Regions from separate parts of the Homo sapiens genome. Here all the other regions are linked to region 2. Evidence: promoter capture Hi-C in 16 types of primary human blood cells and fetal thymus (Javierre and others, 2016). All regions are on one chromosome and are shown on one strand. Each heading gives the region's core, a stretch centred on a gene start or on the middle of the fragment in contact. The rest is flanking DNA. Distances are from core to core; before and after follow the strand shown. Region 1 has its middle 11 kb from the start of LINC01910. Region 2 holds the start of RTTN (rotatin). Region 3 has its middle 34 kb from the start of LINC01910.

What was found. Contacts are between HindIII fragments. The CHiCAGO score rates a contact against its expected background, and 5 or more counts as called.
Region 1: a contact is called between a fragment that was not itself captured here and the fragment with the promoter of RTTN in region 2, in 6 of 17 cell types (monocytes, M1 macrophages, M0 macrophages and 3 more). The highest score is 15.4, in monocytes.
Region 3: a fragment that was not itself captured here is called in contact with the fragment with the promoter of RTTN in region 2 in 9 of 17 cell types (monocytes, M0 macrophages, M1 macrophages and 6 more); the score reaches 34.7 in monocytes.

The regions. Positions count from the first base shown.
Region 1 is chr18:70,393,438-70,398,289 of GRCh38, forward strand. No RefSeq gene overlaps it. Among named protein-coding and RNA genes, the nearest start is that of LINC01910, 11 kb to the left of the region's middle. The HindIII fragment of the contact is 2,630 bases long and covers 1,318-3,947 here.
Region 2 is chr18:70,203,806-70,208,188 of GRCh38, forward strand. RTTN (rotatin) reads right to left here and starts at 1,882. Exons shown (of 49, transcript NM_173630.4): 1 at 1,823-1,882; 2 at 1,323-1,510; 3 at 281-458. The coding sequence starts at 1,853. It overlaps LOC105372180 (a long non-coding RNA gene), which reads left to right and starts at 1,984. Exons shown (of 3, transcript XR_935599.3): 1 at 1,984-2,769; 2 at 3,224-3,289. RefSeq lists enhancers at 1,582-1,711, 1,922-2,031, 1,950-2,579, 2,042-2,281. The HindIII fragment of the contact is 5,232 bases long and covers 400-4,383 here.
Region 3 is chr18:70,416,669-70,421,012 of GRCh38, forward strand. No RefSeq gene overlaps it. Among named protein-coding and RNA genes, the nearest start is that of LINC01910, 34 kb to the left of the region's middle. The HindIII fragment of the contact is 3,005 bases long and covers 1,241-4,245 here.

The sequences.
Region 1 (4,852 bases), core at 1,383-3,882, 190 kb after region 2:
AACAAAATAAGAAACAAAGCAAAATGAAAACACACAATGCGGATGTAATCGATCGTATCCCCCTGCGTAGTTGCTGCCACAGTTAGGGCCCTAAGTATGTCATACGTCATATGACTTTTCATGTTAGTTTTACCTCTTATGTGGGTTTTTTGAGGGTAGAGGCTCCATCTTCCATTTCTTTTGTGACCTTTTAAGGATTCTTGCCCACTGCTTAGCACAGAGTAAATTCTGAGAAAAAACACCCACATTTTGATTAGTGGGTTGATATTTTAAAAAATGGGTGACCATATTCTTTGTGCTGCAGGGCAAGGGATTTATGTTTCCTGATATTGAAAACAGTCCAGTGCTTAGCTTAGGGATGCATTCTATGCTAACTCACTGACCCTGAGAAGTCTCCATTGTAAAACACATTGTAATTATACGTATCACTAAGAAGGAAAAAATGTTTTCAATTATACTTGCAAGGCATTATGAACATAAGATGCATTGTAATTTCAATTAAAAATAAAAACAAAGCCAGGCACAGTGGTGCATGCCTTAATCACAGCACTTTGTGGCACTGAGCTGAGGCAGGTGGACTGCTTTGCCCAGGAGTTTGAGACCAGCCTGGGCAATGTGGTGAAATACTCACTCTACAGAAAGTACAAAAATTAGCCAGACATGGTGATGCACACTTGTTGTCCCAGCTACTTGGGAGGCTGAGGTGGGAGAATCGCTTGAGCCCGGGAGGCAGAGGTTGCAGTGAGCTGAGATTGCACCACTTGCACTCCAGCCTGGGTGACAGTGTGAGGTCCTCCCTCAAAAGAAAAAAAAAAGGAGACAGAAAAGAGGGTTATATTAGGCTGTTCTTGCATTGCTGTAAAGAAATACCTGAGGCTGGGTGCAGTGGCTCACGCCTGTAATCCCAGCACTTTGGGAGGCCGAGGCAGGCAGATCACAAGGTCAAGAGATCGAGACCATCCTGGCCAACATGGTGTAGCCCCGTCTATACTAAAAATACAAAAATTAGCTGGGCATGGTGGTGCATTCCTATAGTCCCAGCTACTCAGGAGGCTGTGGCAGGAGAATAGCTTGAACCCGGGAGGCAGAGGTTGCAGTGAGCCGACTTCGTGCCGCTGCACTCCAGCCTGGCGACAGAGTGAGACTCCATCTCAAAAAAAAAAAAAAAAAGAAAAGAAAAGAAAAGAAAAGAAAAAAGAAAAGAAAAAATCCTGAGACTGAGTAATTTATAAAGAAACGAGGTTTGATTGGCTCACATTCCTGCAGCCTGTACAGGAAGCATGGCACCGGTAGATACTTCTGGTCAGAGCCTCAGGAAGCTTCCAATCATAGCAGAAAGCAAAGGGGGATCAGGCTCATCACATGGGGGAGTAGGCACCTCACATGGCAAGAGCGGGAGTGAGAGAGAGTGGGGGAGAGGTGCCACACATTTAAACAACCCGACCTCATGAGAACCTACTCACTACGGTGAGGACAGCACCAATAGGATAGTGCTAAACCATTCATGGGAAATCCATCCACCCCCATGATCCAATCACCTCCCACCAGGCCCCACCTCCAACAATGGGGATGACATTTCAACATGAGATTTGGGGAGACAAGTATCCAAACTGTATTAATCTGTTCTCACACTGCTATGAAGAATTGCCTGAGACTGGGTAATTTATAAAGAAAAGGGGATTAATTGACTCACAGTTCAGCATGGCTGGGGAGGCCTCAGGAAACTTACAATCATGGCGGAAGGCAAAAGGGAAGCAAGGCACCTTCTTCACAAGTCGGCAGGAAGAAGTGCCGAGTGAAAAGGGAAGAGCTTCTTATAAAACCATCAGATCTTGTGAGAACTCACTCACTATCATGAGAACAGCATGGGAGAAACCACCCCCATGTTTCAGTTACCTCCACCTGGTCTCTCCTTTGACATGTGGGGATTACGGGGATTACCATTCAAGATGAGATTTGGGTGGGAACACACAGTTTAACCATATCACAAACTATGTCAAAGGTGAATCCTAGTATTGATGAGATATGGTATTTAAATAGAAAATAGTCTCTTTTTGTCTTTGCTACCAAAAGACTGAGGAGGCCTTTGGGCAGGATGGTGGTCTTTCCTAGGCCCCTGAGCCCACGGTGTGTTGGAGCCTAGGATTTTATTTGCAGTAGCCTGGCGTATTGATTGAGCAAGGGCTTTGCAGTCTGAGAGAAGTGTATCAGCATTGTATCTTTAATGCTCGGAATCTCCATTTCTTTATCTGTGAAGATGGGACAATAAAATCATCGTTCCAGGACTTTCTGTGAGGATCCAATGAGATAATCTAGGGGAAGAGTCCCATCTCAGCACTCAGTACTTAGGACACACGTATGAGTTTCTCCTTCCCTTCCCCATGCTCTCCTTGCTTCCTTCAAAAGCTCACAATGAAAAAGGTGAAAAAGAACTTAGAGTAGATCATGACCTCAGAAATTTTAAATTCAGAAAACTTCTTAGGATGCTAAATAGAATCCTGTAGATCTCATCCCTCTTGGGTATTGTGTTGGTTTCCTGCTGCTGCTGTCATAAATTACTGTAAGTTTAGTGTTTAAAAACAACACACATCTGGCCGGGCGTGGTGGCTCACACCTGTTATCCCAGCATTTTGGGAGGCTGAGGCGGGCAGATCACTTGAGGCCAGGAGTTTGAGGCCAGCCTGGCCAACTTGGTGAAACCCTGTCTCTACTAAAAAAATACAAAAATTAGCCGGACATGGTGGTGTACACCTGTAATCCCAGCTACTCAGAAGCCTGAGACAGGAGAATCGCCTGAACCTGGGAGGTGGAGGTTGCGGTGAGCCGAGACCGTGTCACTGCCCTCCAGCCTGGGTGACAGAATGAGACCCTGTCTCCAAAACAAAGCAAAACAAAAACAAAAGAACCCCACACATTTATTATCAAACTGATCTTGAGGACAGAAGTCCAGGCCACGTTCATTTCTGGGGGCTATAGGGGAGACTCTGTCTCCACTGTGTTTCCAGCTTCTGCATGCTGCCTGCATTCCTTGGCTCGTGGTCCTTTTCTCCATTTCGAAGGCCAGCAGTGCTACCTCTCTTTGTGCCTTTCTTTCATAGTCATAACCCTCTGGCTGACTCTGACTCCTTCTGTCTTTCTCTTTCATTTTTAAAGATTTTAAGGATGTTTACATGGGCCTAGCTGGATAATTCAAGATAGTCTTCCTAATTTAAGCAATCTGATTGGCATCCTTAATTCATCTGCAACTCCCCTCCGCCGTGTACCCTCACATATTCACAGCTTCCAGAGATTAGGACATGGACATTTTGGAAGCCATTGTTCAGTCTATTACAAGTACTTAAAAAAAACCACTATATATCTCCCTTGCTTCTTGTTTGATTGAAAATGTGTTGTGTATGGATTTTTAAAATTCCATTATTTGAATACTTACAATTTCAACTGATGCCTCTATCGTAGCACTTGTGCATTACATAGAAATGTTTATTTATTTTACATGTCTGTTTACCCACTAATACATATGCTTCTAGAGGGAATATATCGTATTCATCTTAGAATTCTGTGAACACAGTACAATGCCTAGTGCAAAACAGATACTTGATCAGTGATTATGCACTGGAACTGAATGAACTTGGTTGATTTTTGTAGCAATTTCTTATTTTGTCCTCTTTTAAACTTTCACAAATAACTTCCAAAACCTGAATGCCTTTGATATCAACAACATGTAGTCTTTCCTTTTATATGAGATAACAATTGGTCGTCTCACGTCTATTGAGAAGTAAATGATTTGTTTCATTCAGCTTAGTGGAAATTCACACAAGAAATGCAGAAAAATGAAAATAATAAAGTTATTTTCAGGTTATTCAAAAGAGAATGAAGGTCTGAGAAGTTTCTTAATATATACAAGTAGGATTTTATTGCAAAGGGAATTGGAAGTTATTTTCCTGGGAAGCTTTGGTTCTGCTAACAATGAAGCATTTATACAATGCATAATCCATGAATGTGAGTCGGTTACATCTTATTACGCAACTTTCTATTGTATTTAGTATACATCAGTATCTATATCAGTACAAACAATTGATCCAGTTTTTGGTGAAAGCCAAACTAATATTTTATTACATAATTCTGTAAATTTGACAATACGCAGATTTCTGGGTGAATGTCTGCTGCTTCTTTTGCTTTTGTTTCTTTATTCTTATTTCTCTGAGTACAGTCATCTGAGTATAGATGAGTGAATTAAAGCTGTCCTTTGACTCATTCTCGGATCATCCATTAAAACTGAGTTTTGGGGCCAGGCATGGTGTCTCATGCCTGTAACCCCAGCACTTTGGGAGGCCAATGCGGGATGATCACTTGAGGCCAGGAATTTGAGACCAGCCTGGGCAACATTGTGAGACTCTGTCTGTACAAAAAACTTTTTAAAACTAGCTGACTGTGGTGGCATATGCTTGTAGTCCTAGCCACTTGGGAGTCTGAGGTGGGAGTATCATTTGAGACCAGGAGATCAAGGCTGAGCTATGATCACACCACTGTACTCCAGCCTGAATGACAGAGTGAGACCCTGTTCCCCCTCCCCAAAAATCAAAAACACAAAAAACTATTTTTTGGGGCCAATCTAAGAGATGATCCACTAATTGGTCCACTTACCACATACTTTTAGATTTGATACCTTTCATTAATAGCCTTTACTTTGCACTCTTTTCTTCCATTGTTTTTTTTTTCATTGACTTTTCTGCTCCTAGCAATCAACATTCTTCATTTCCACAATCCTTGCCAAAGTAGCATTCCCTTTCCCTTGGGAAAAGTAGGCATAGACCTGCCTCTAAATCAAAGGCTTCAAGTACCAAAGGTAACC
Region 2 (4,383 bases), core at 632-3,131:
TACATTGTTATTGCCAAAAAAATAATCTGTCAAACTGGCCTCATAAAAGCAAAGTCACTGGCATCGTTTAGGCCTGACCCAAAAAGCAATTAATGCAAATGTACCATCCTTTGACTAACAGTAGAGGAGGGGAAAAAGGTCAAAATCATGTAAGTTAACACAAGAAAAATAAGTTTGGGGGAGGTGGGAGAAATCCTTTTTAAAAAAATCTAATCTCCCTTTCCTTAAAATTTACCATTAGAATTAATATATTTGTATTTAACAGATTCCAAAGAGTTACCAGTTTGATTGGTTTGGTATGAGGCAGAAGATAGTGCAGGAACTTCCGAAGGAAGAAGAAAAAGTCCATCCAGAATGCCATCAATTTCAGCCTGCAGATTTGGCTCCACATTAGACCGAAGCTTAGATAAGAACTCTACTGCACCAACGTCAACCAAATGTTGGACTGCTGGGGGATACTAAAATAAGAAGAGGATGATCTTGAGAATAACTGTATCAAAATCTCTATAACTTACAGCAATCAAAACATAAAATTATTTTTGGTATATCAGATGTTCCTTTTCTGAAAAACAAATCCTTCATGGCTCTGCCCCGAAGTAAGGCACTTCCATGAGGAGCACATACACCTATAGAGACATACATCCAACACTTGATAACATTTATGAAAGATGAGCCAACACACTGAACGCTAGAAATGCACATTATCAATCCCTACTCTTATTTTTTTAATGGGTTACTTTTTTCCACTGACACTCACCTTATGGTCCCAGCCCCAACCGGTCAACAGGATGTCAAAGTAGTTTAAGATTCCTCTACCATTGTACAGTGATTTAGTTTTGAAAGGTTAAACTTACACTTTGATATCTGACCCCGATAACTAACTACTCTTGAGGTAGGCATAAGAATACCAATCTAAAAGCATATGGGCAAGCAACTTAACATTGGTATTTATGAATCACGGTTATGTAACATTATTTTTAAAGTGCTCCCTTTCATACTGACATATCTAGTTTTTAAGATGTAAATGTCAGAAAACAAAAACAGAATACAAATATTAACCTCCAAAGATAACTCAAAAACACAGAACATACCAAAACTCAAAAGAAGTTCTGTGTTACTTCTGAGCACAGCAGAGACCATGTGGGATTCAGTATCACAAATAAAAGATGAACCATATACCCAGATTAATTAAAATTAAACATCTCTGGTTGATTAAAAAAACTTTTAACCCCAATTATTTAACTTTCAATAAACGCTACAATTAAATGACTAAGAAACAAGTCACTCGTCTGATTATTTTCTTTATTTCAAAATGACCCTACCTTAACCAATCTGCTTAACAGGTTCAGAACCTCTTCCTTCATCGGAACGGACGGGAAATTGAACCATTCCAGCAAATGAAGAAAAAGTTGCCTCTCCTGAATGAGATCAGCGTAGCAGATTAAGTTGTGCTCAATCTTGCAGAGAATACTCTTGAGAGCGCGCTCCCTGATCTCGGCCAGCTGATGACCTGTCAACGAACGGCACAAAACTATTTTATTTCCCGACTGCAAAGAGACTACGTTATTTATGCTGTGGGCAGGAGCGGCGTGAAGACGGAATAAACCAGTTTTTTTCAGAAGCAGGCCACTGGTGCCTTCGGGACGCGAACCGCGAAGTTTACACAAAGTCCGAGATGGGTCCCCGGGGGCTATCCTGACAAAGCGGGGGTGAAAGAGGGAGCGGTCGCGGAGCGGCCGGCCGCGGAAACGTGACACGACCATTCTCAGCAAGTGGCCAGAGCGCGGGGGGTGCCTTGGGCGAGGGGCAAGCTGACAGTTACCGAGTTTCCTGATGAGCCCTGCCAGGACCATCTCGTCCCGTCAATCTGCAGCCGCCGGAGAATTAAACTGCCGCGCCACTGCGTCCAGCCACAATTAATGTACCCCCGGAAACACGTCCTGTGGGACGGTGAGTTCCGCAACGCCTGCGCTCACCAGGAGTAGGAGTCATTACGTGAGCCCTTCGCGGCCCCAGCGTCGCCAGGAGAGCTTCCAGCCTCTCTAGAATCACTACTGCGCACTTCCTGGACAGCAGTCTCCGTCGCAAGAAGCGGAGGGAAAAAAAAAAGCAACAAGCAGGGATAGAACCAGCGTTGGCCGCCGCGCACGTCGGGAGTTGTAGTTCTGGCTAGGCCGTGCGTCCTGCACCGATCTCCGGGCCCGCCGCGGCGCCCGCTGGCCTGGGGTTCCGGCTTACAGCGCGGGAATTCGGGAACCCAGCGCGGGCTGCAGAGGCCCCAGCAGGAGCCCCGCCTCCCGGCTCGTCGACGGATTCGTTCTTGGCCCTGCCAATCTGATTCTCAGCTCCCAGAACTTCACGATTTAGAATGTAGACTTTTGCTTTGTGACAGTTCTCCCCATCCCCGACTACTAAATGACGAACCCTCTTTAACTGTGAAATGTACCTGCAAAGTCAAGCAGTGTCTTTGGATACCCAAGTTCAGATATGAACAAGCAAGCTACAAAAGCGGGGTGGGCGGGTATGAGTGAGCAGAAGAGAGAAACCGGGCTGCAAAAAAGGAAAATAAAGGCGGGACGTGGGGGTATGATTTGCTGAATGGTACCAAAGTTGATTTTTTGCACCGTGCACAGTGATCGAGCTGAGCAAATTATTTTTTTTTTAATTATAAGCAGCGGTAAGAACAACAACAAAATTACATTTGGAAAATGATTTGCATTTTCTCGGTCTGATCATTTCACGTTCCCTGGGAAAGGGATGTCAAGGCAGGTAAAGTGGGCCCTCGGTATCCCTAGGTAATTGGTTCCAGGACCCCCGCAGATACCCAAATCCACCCATGCTTAAGTCTCTTTTATAAAATGGTGTAGTATTTGCATATAACCTACACACATCCTCCTATATGCTTTAAATCATCTCTAGATTGCTTACAATACCTAATACACTGTAAATGCTATGTAAATAGTTGTTACACTGTACTTTTATTCATATTATTTTTTAATTGTTGTATTGTTATTTTCAACTGTGGGGTTTTTTCCCGAATATTTTCCATCCCGTGTGTTGAATTCTCTGTGTGCAACCAGTGGACAGCAAAGGCCTACTGTATTCCCATTCCTATTTTGCCAAAGAGGAAACTTAGAATCACAAAAGTACCCCCACACAAAGTCACATTAACTAGTAAGTGACAGATTGAGGAGCTGACCTGATGTTTCTTTGTTCTATTTAGAGTGCCTTGCTGCCTCCTCATGTGTGTCAATAGGAGAGTGATGATATTTGAGTTGGATCTTAAAGAGTAAGTAGGAGTTTGCCACACAAAGAAGTTGGGTAAGGAAATTCCTGCAGGAGAAACCTGTATTTGCAAAGGCAAGAATCCAGACGGAGTGTGTCAAATTCGGGAAAAGAACAAAATTCAAGGTGGCCATATTATCTCTGGGAAGAAGAGAGGAAGGGCAAGATTGCTGCTAGCATGCTGGATATTCTCCATTCCACCTTCTAGTGGTTCCTCCCAGCTCTTCCAGCTCTGCATCAACTGACCTGAACAGGCAAAAAGACTGCACTATCCAGGCTGCCTGGCCCTCTGGCTTCCAGTTGGTTGCCGCCGATAGGAGGCATCAGCAGGAAATTGGAAAGTAGGAGGAAAGAGATACGGATATTAAACCAAGATTCCACTAGCCCATGCCTAAGCCTGCCTGGCCAAGATTGTAACAGTGGCTGAATTCCTTGACCCAAAGACCACATGTCCTGATGGATAGCATACCACAGTGGGCACTGCAGAACCAGTTACACCAACTCAGAAGTGTCTGTAGTTATCCAGGAAGGAAGGTGTTAATTACGGATTTGAAGTGTCAAGGTCAAAAAACACATGACAATACAGAAAAATAATAGAAATAACTTGTCAATGATGTTTCTGAGATGAACAATCTTAGGTGATGAGAGACTGTAGATGCAGTGGGGTAAGGGGCGATAATACTGTAGAAGAAATATAAAAAATCCATTGACTTAAAACAAGCATGTTACAAGTAAAATGGGGGTCAAACTATGAAAGGGTTTTACTTATGTTGCACCCAAGGTCAACATAAACATTTTATTTTATTTTCATTGTTGAGCATATATTGCTCCTGTAATTAGACAAAAATAATTAAATCCCATTCATTACATTCAAAGCAAATAATCTATCATTCTCCTATTAGACTATTGATTCAGCAATTTTTCCTAAAAAAAAATCAACCTTTGATTTATTAATTCTACTATTTAAAAACACACATATATATTCTAGTGTATTGACTGTATTATTTTTTACCAGTTACTTCACTCTGTCGCCCAGGCTGGAGTGCAGTGGTGTGATCTCCGCTCACTGCAACCTCTGCCTCCTGGGTTCAAGTGATT
Region 3 (4,344 bases), core at 1,493-3,992, 210 kb after region 2:
TGGGCTGTGGGATGTGAGGGGCGGAGGCTCGGCACAGCCCTCGGAGACTCCAATACTGTAGTTTCTCCTCTCTTCACTTTCATTTGTTTTAGCTGCGTTCAGCTATGCAATGATGATCAGACAATGACGGCCAGACCTACCCTACACACGATGCTCCTGGTGACAGGCACATGCTGCTTCCTTCTTGAGTATTTGATTCGACTAATATTTATGAAGCATTTATCAGCGCATGGCATCACGGTGTAGGCAAAAATATATGTGATGCACATTCACTGAGAGCTTGCTTTACATAGAACAGGAATTGGAAGTTTGCAACCTGCGAAAATTACTTTTTCTGGTTGCAAAAAATGTATGTGTACTATGAGAAAGTATATTATCTCTGAAAGAAATTCAAACATACAAAATATAGAAAATAAAAAAGTAGAACTAATCCCATAATCTCTCCCTCCGGATGTAGCCGCAGTTAGAATTTATCTTCAAAACTTTTTAAATATCCTTAAGTCTCTGGGAGTGTTTTATTTTTGAAAATTAAGATAACAGGGCCAGGCGTGGTGGCTTTGGGCTGGGCACAGTGGTTTATGCCTGTAATCCCAGCACTTCAGGAGCCTGAGGTGGGTGGAACACCTGAGGTCAGGAGTTCGAGACCAGCCTGGCCAACATGGTGAAACCCCGTTTCTACTAAAAATACAAAAATTAGCTGGGTGTGGTGGCATGCACCTGTAATCCCAGCTACTTGGGAGGCTAAGGCAGGAGAATCGCTTGAACCCGCGAGGCGGAGGTTGCAGTGAGCCGAGATCATGCCACTGCACTCTAGCCTGGGCGACAGAGTGAGGTTCCATCTCAAACAAAACAAAACAAAACAAAAAAACTAAAATAATAATACTACTAAAAAAAGACAATTAAGAGAACATTAAAATTATACAGTATATGAAAGTATTGGAATACTGGTTAAAGAAAATAATCTCAAAAACCTTCCCCAATTTTATTTTGTTATTTCATTAAAATGATTTTATTTTACTGGAAAAAATGTTATTGGTCAATTCATCGATGAAAGTCCCATGGAGCGGAGGCTCGCGAGATGTCAGAGGTGACACCTGCTGTCCTGCTACCGTGGAGCTGTTGCCTGAGCTGAGTTCTGGAGACTCTGCTGGCCCCACCTTCCTCTGAGATTACGGATTCAGGTTCAATGCAACACAGTGCAACATATCTTTCTAGAACACGACTCTGCCCAGGACCCTTAAGCTTGAAATTGAAGAGCTAATTTTCCCCAGACAAATAAAGCAAATACTTGACGTGATAGCATCTCATTTCCTGCAGGTCTGAGAGATGGATCGTGATGCTGGGATCTAAAGGCAACACACTTATCAGAGGAGGCAATGTGTTTGCTCATCCATTGAGTTGGCTAAAAAGGATGCTTAGGATACAAGGGGTGCGTTTACTCAAGATGCTATCTAAGTAATTGTCTATTGGTAATAAAAAAATAGCTAGAAAGAAATTAAAATTAATTCCTCCAGGAATATCTTTGGTCTGAGAGCAATAAATGTGTCAAATTACCATCTGTAGTACAAATGTCAGCGATCTGTTTGTACTGTTATTGGTGGATACTATAATTCCCAGACCCAAGTAGAAATAGGGATTTTGCAGCTGGCTAGGTGCAATGTATTTAAATTTGTTTTGGGGGTTAATCTGGAGAATAGGTGTATTGTTCTTTGTAAAACAATTTAATGGTAATAGGCAAAATGGCAGTGATAAAGTAAGGAACACAAGAGGACACAAATAAAAATAGGGAGACCTCAGTCAGGCATCTTTGCTGGGATGACTCCACATTACAAGTATAGAGTTACACACACACACACACACACACACACACACACACACACACACACACAGAGTTGCCTGATGTGGCAAAGAAAAATCCAGAACGTCCTTCCCTCTCTGAATTGTTCCTCCTATGTGCTCCCTGGGCTCTCATCACTCTGTCTGACCCTGTTCAGTTCTCTTCATCCGTCAATGGACTGTAAGTTCATTCCACCAGTTTATCCCCAGTGTGTTTCACTGCGCCTGGCTTAAGTCAGATATTCAGTTAATATCTGTTGACTGAATGGATGAAAGAGTGAGTGGCACAGAAAACACACTCACGCTTGAGGATCGCACAGCCGTGTGAAGCTGACTGTGGATTGCACTGAAGAACGAGGCTGGGATAGTAGAGATGCCCAAAGGAGGAGACTGTGAAGGCAAGCCTGGATTCTGCCCTGCAGCCCCTAGATACCAGGGCTGGTCCTGGGCACAGGAGAGACAGGTGAGCATTGATGTTTCAGAAAGAATATTCTTCCAGCAGCATGAAGGGCAGCTTATGGATAGGTGAGGCGGGAGGCACGTGGGAGATGAGACAGAAGGGTTTGTGCTTTATAATCTGAGTTGGAAGTGTGGGTGTTTCTTCTCTGTGGTCTGTGGGTTTCAGTATTAGTTATATTCTGCAGTTGAAGATGACAGTGATTTAGAGCAGGGTTGACCCTAAGTCTCCCCTGCCACCTCCCACACCAGAGCCATATTGTCACTGCTATGACCCCGACCATAGGAGGGGCAGAAAGACTTCGCAGGGTCTCAGCTGAAGGAGGTTTTGGGTGGAAGCGGCCAGAAGGCACCTGTGTTAGAGCAGTTAATCATTAAAAACACACACTAATGCTCCCTTAGAATATAAATGGTGTATGTTAGTGTGAACAGCTAGGAGGGCAGAGGGTGAGTTACCTGAAGAAGAGGAGGACACAGAGGAAAGAGCTGTGACCCCAGTGACTGAGAAAAAAGGTGCCGAGACAGCTGCGGCCGGCAGAGCCCGCGGGTTCTAAGATTCCTCTCCACTCAGTTGCTAACTCCTGCCCCACTCCCCACCTCCCACAACAAGAAAACATTCTTCAAGAGTAGCTGGTGCCTGTGATTTCTTTCATAAGAAGCAGAGTCTTTAATTCTGCATTGGAGATTAGAGGTTTACTCTAAAAGGTCAGCTCAGGAGACTCTTGAAAACAGCTCCAATCTAAATGCAACCAGTTCATAAATTCCTGTCCTATGGAGATAAGTTATCGCAGCAAATCCAACCACAGGCAGTACAGCTCCTGAATCATCAGGGAGAATTAAAAGGAGATGATGAAATGGGTAGCTTTTAGATTAATACAACGGTATAAAACCCAGGGAATGAGAGAATCTTGAGACTGTTATTTTCTGTATCTGCCATGACAAACGTTCCTTAATTCTTTAAACACTCATTAAAGAAATGAAAATTACTTTCTCATTCTCTAAAAACAATTAACAAACTTGTAGAGGGGAGAGAGTCTGGGGGAATGGGAATTGAAGATGAAGGGATGGGGGAAACGTCCGCTGGAGAAAAGCGAGAGACACACGTTTTACCAGAAATTGAGCGCTTAGGATTTTTGGCATTGCTGTTATGAAGACAGGAAGTTCTGATGGACATTTATTAGGATTGCCAGATAGAACACAGGACGCTCAGTTAAATTTGAATTTCAATTAAACAACCAATAGTACATGAGACAGTTGCATTCCATATATTTCTTGGGACTAAAAACATCATTCCCTTCCAGGAGAGAGTGATGTTGCACCATAGCAGGGGTTAGCAAACTATGACCTGTGGGCCAAATCCAATCCTCTTCCTGTTTTTGTAAATAAAGTTATATTGCAACACGGCCTGCTCATTCATTTAAATATTGTTCATGGCTATTTTCACAGCATAACAGCAAAATTGAATAGTTGTGAGTCAGACCGCATAGTCTTCAAAGCCTGAAATAATTACTTTCTATTCTAGTGGAAATCAGGAGTTTTCTAGGTATAGAAGTTTAGGAAAAAACTGTTTCTGGTCCTGAGGTTTCAGAAAACATGACAAATAGGAGGATGCAGGAAGTTTGGTGAGTGGGGAGAATTATAAGCAGGAAATTTAAGTGGGGATCAGCTTTTTTTGTGTGTCTGAGACAGATTCTTGTTCTGCCACCCAGGCTGAAGTACAGTGGTGAGATTATGGCTCACTGTAGCCTCGACCTCCCAGGCTCAAGCAGTCCTCCCACCTTAGCCTCCCAAAGTGCTGGGATTACAGACAATGAGGCACTGTGAGTGGTGGGGTCAACTTTGGAAGGGTTTTGTAAACCATTTTAAGGAATACCTTTGCTCTTTCTGTTTAATCTTCCTAGAATAGTTTTCCTCTCAACATGCCTGTTAAAATCTTATCCGTTCTTTGAAGCAAGCTTTAATCTCACCTTGAGCATAAGATTTTTGGTAAGAATATTTTTGCTCATTGTTCTTTTTATTTATCAGTGCAATAGTACTTATAGTGGGTTATCA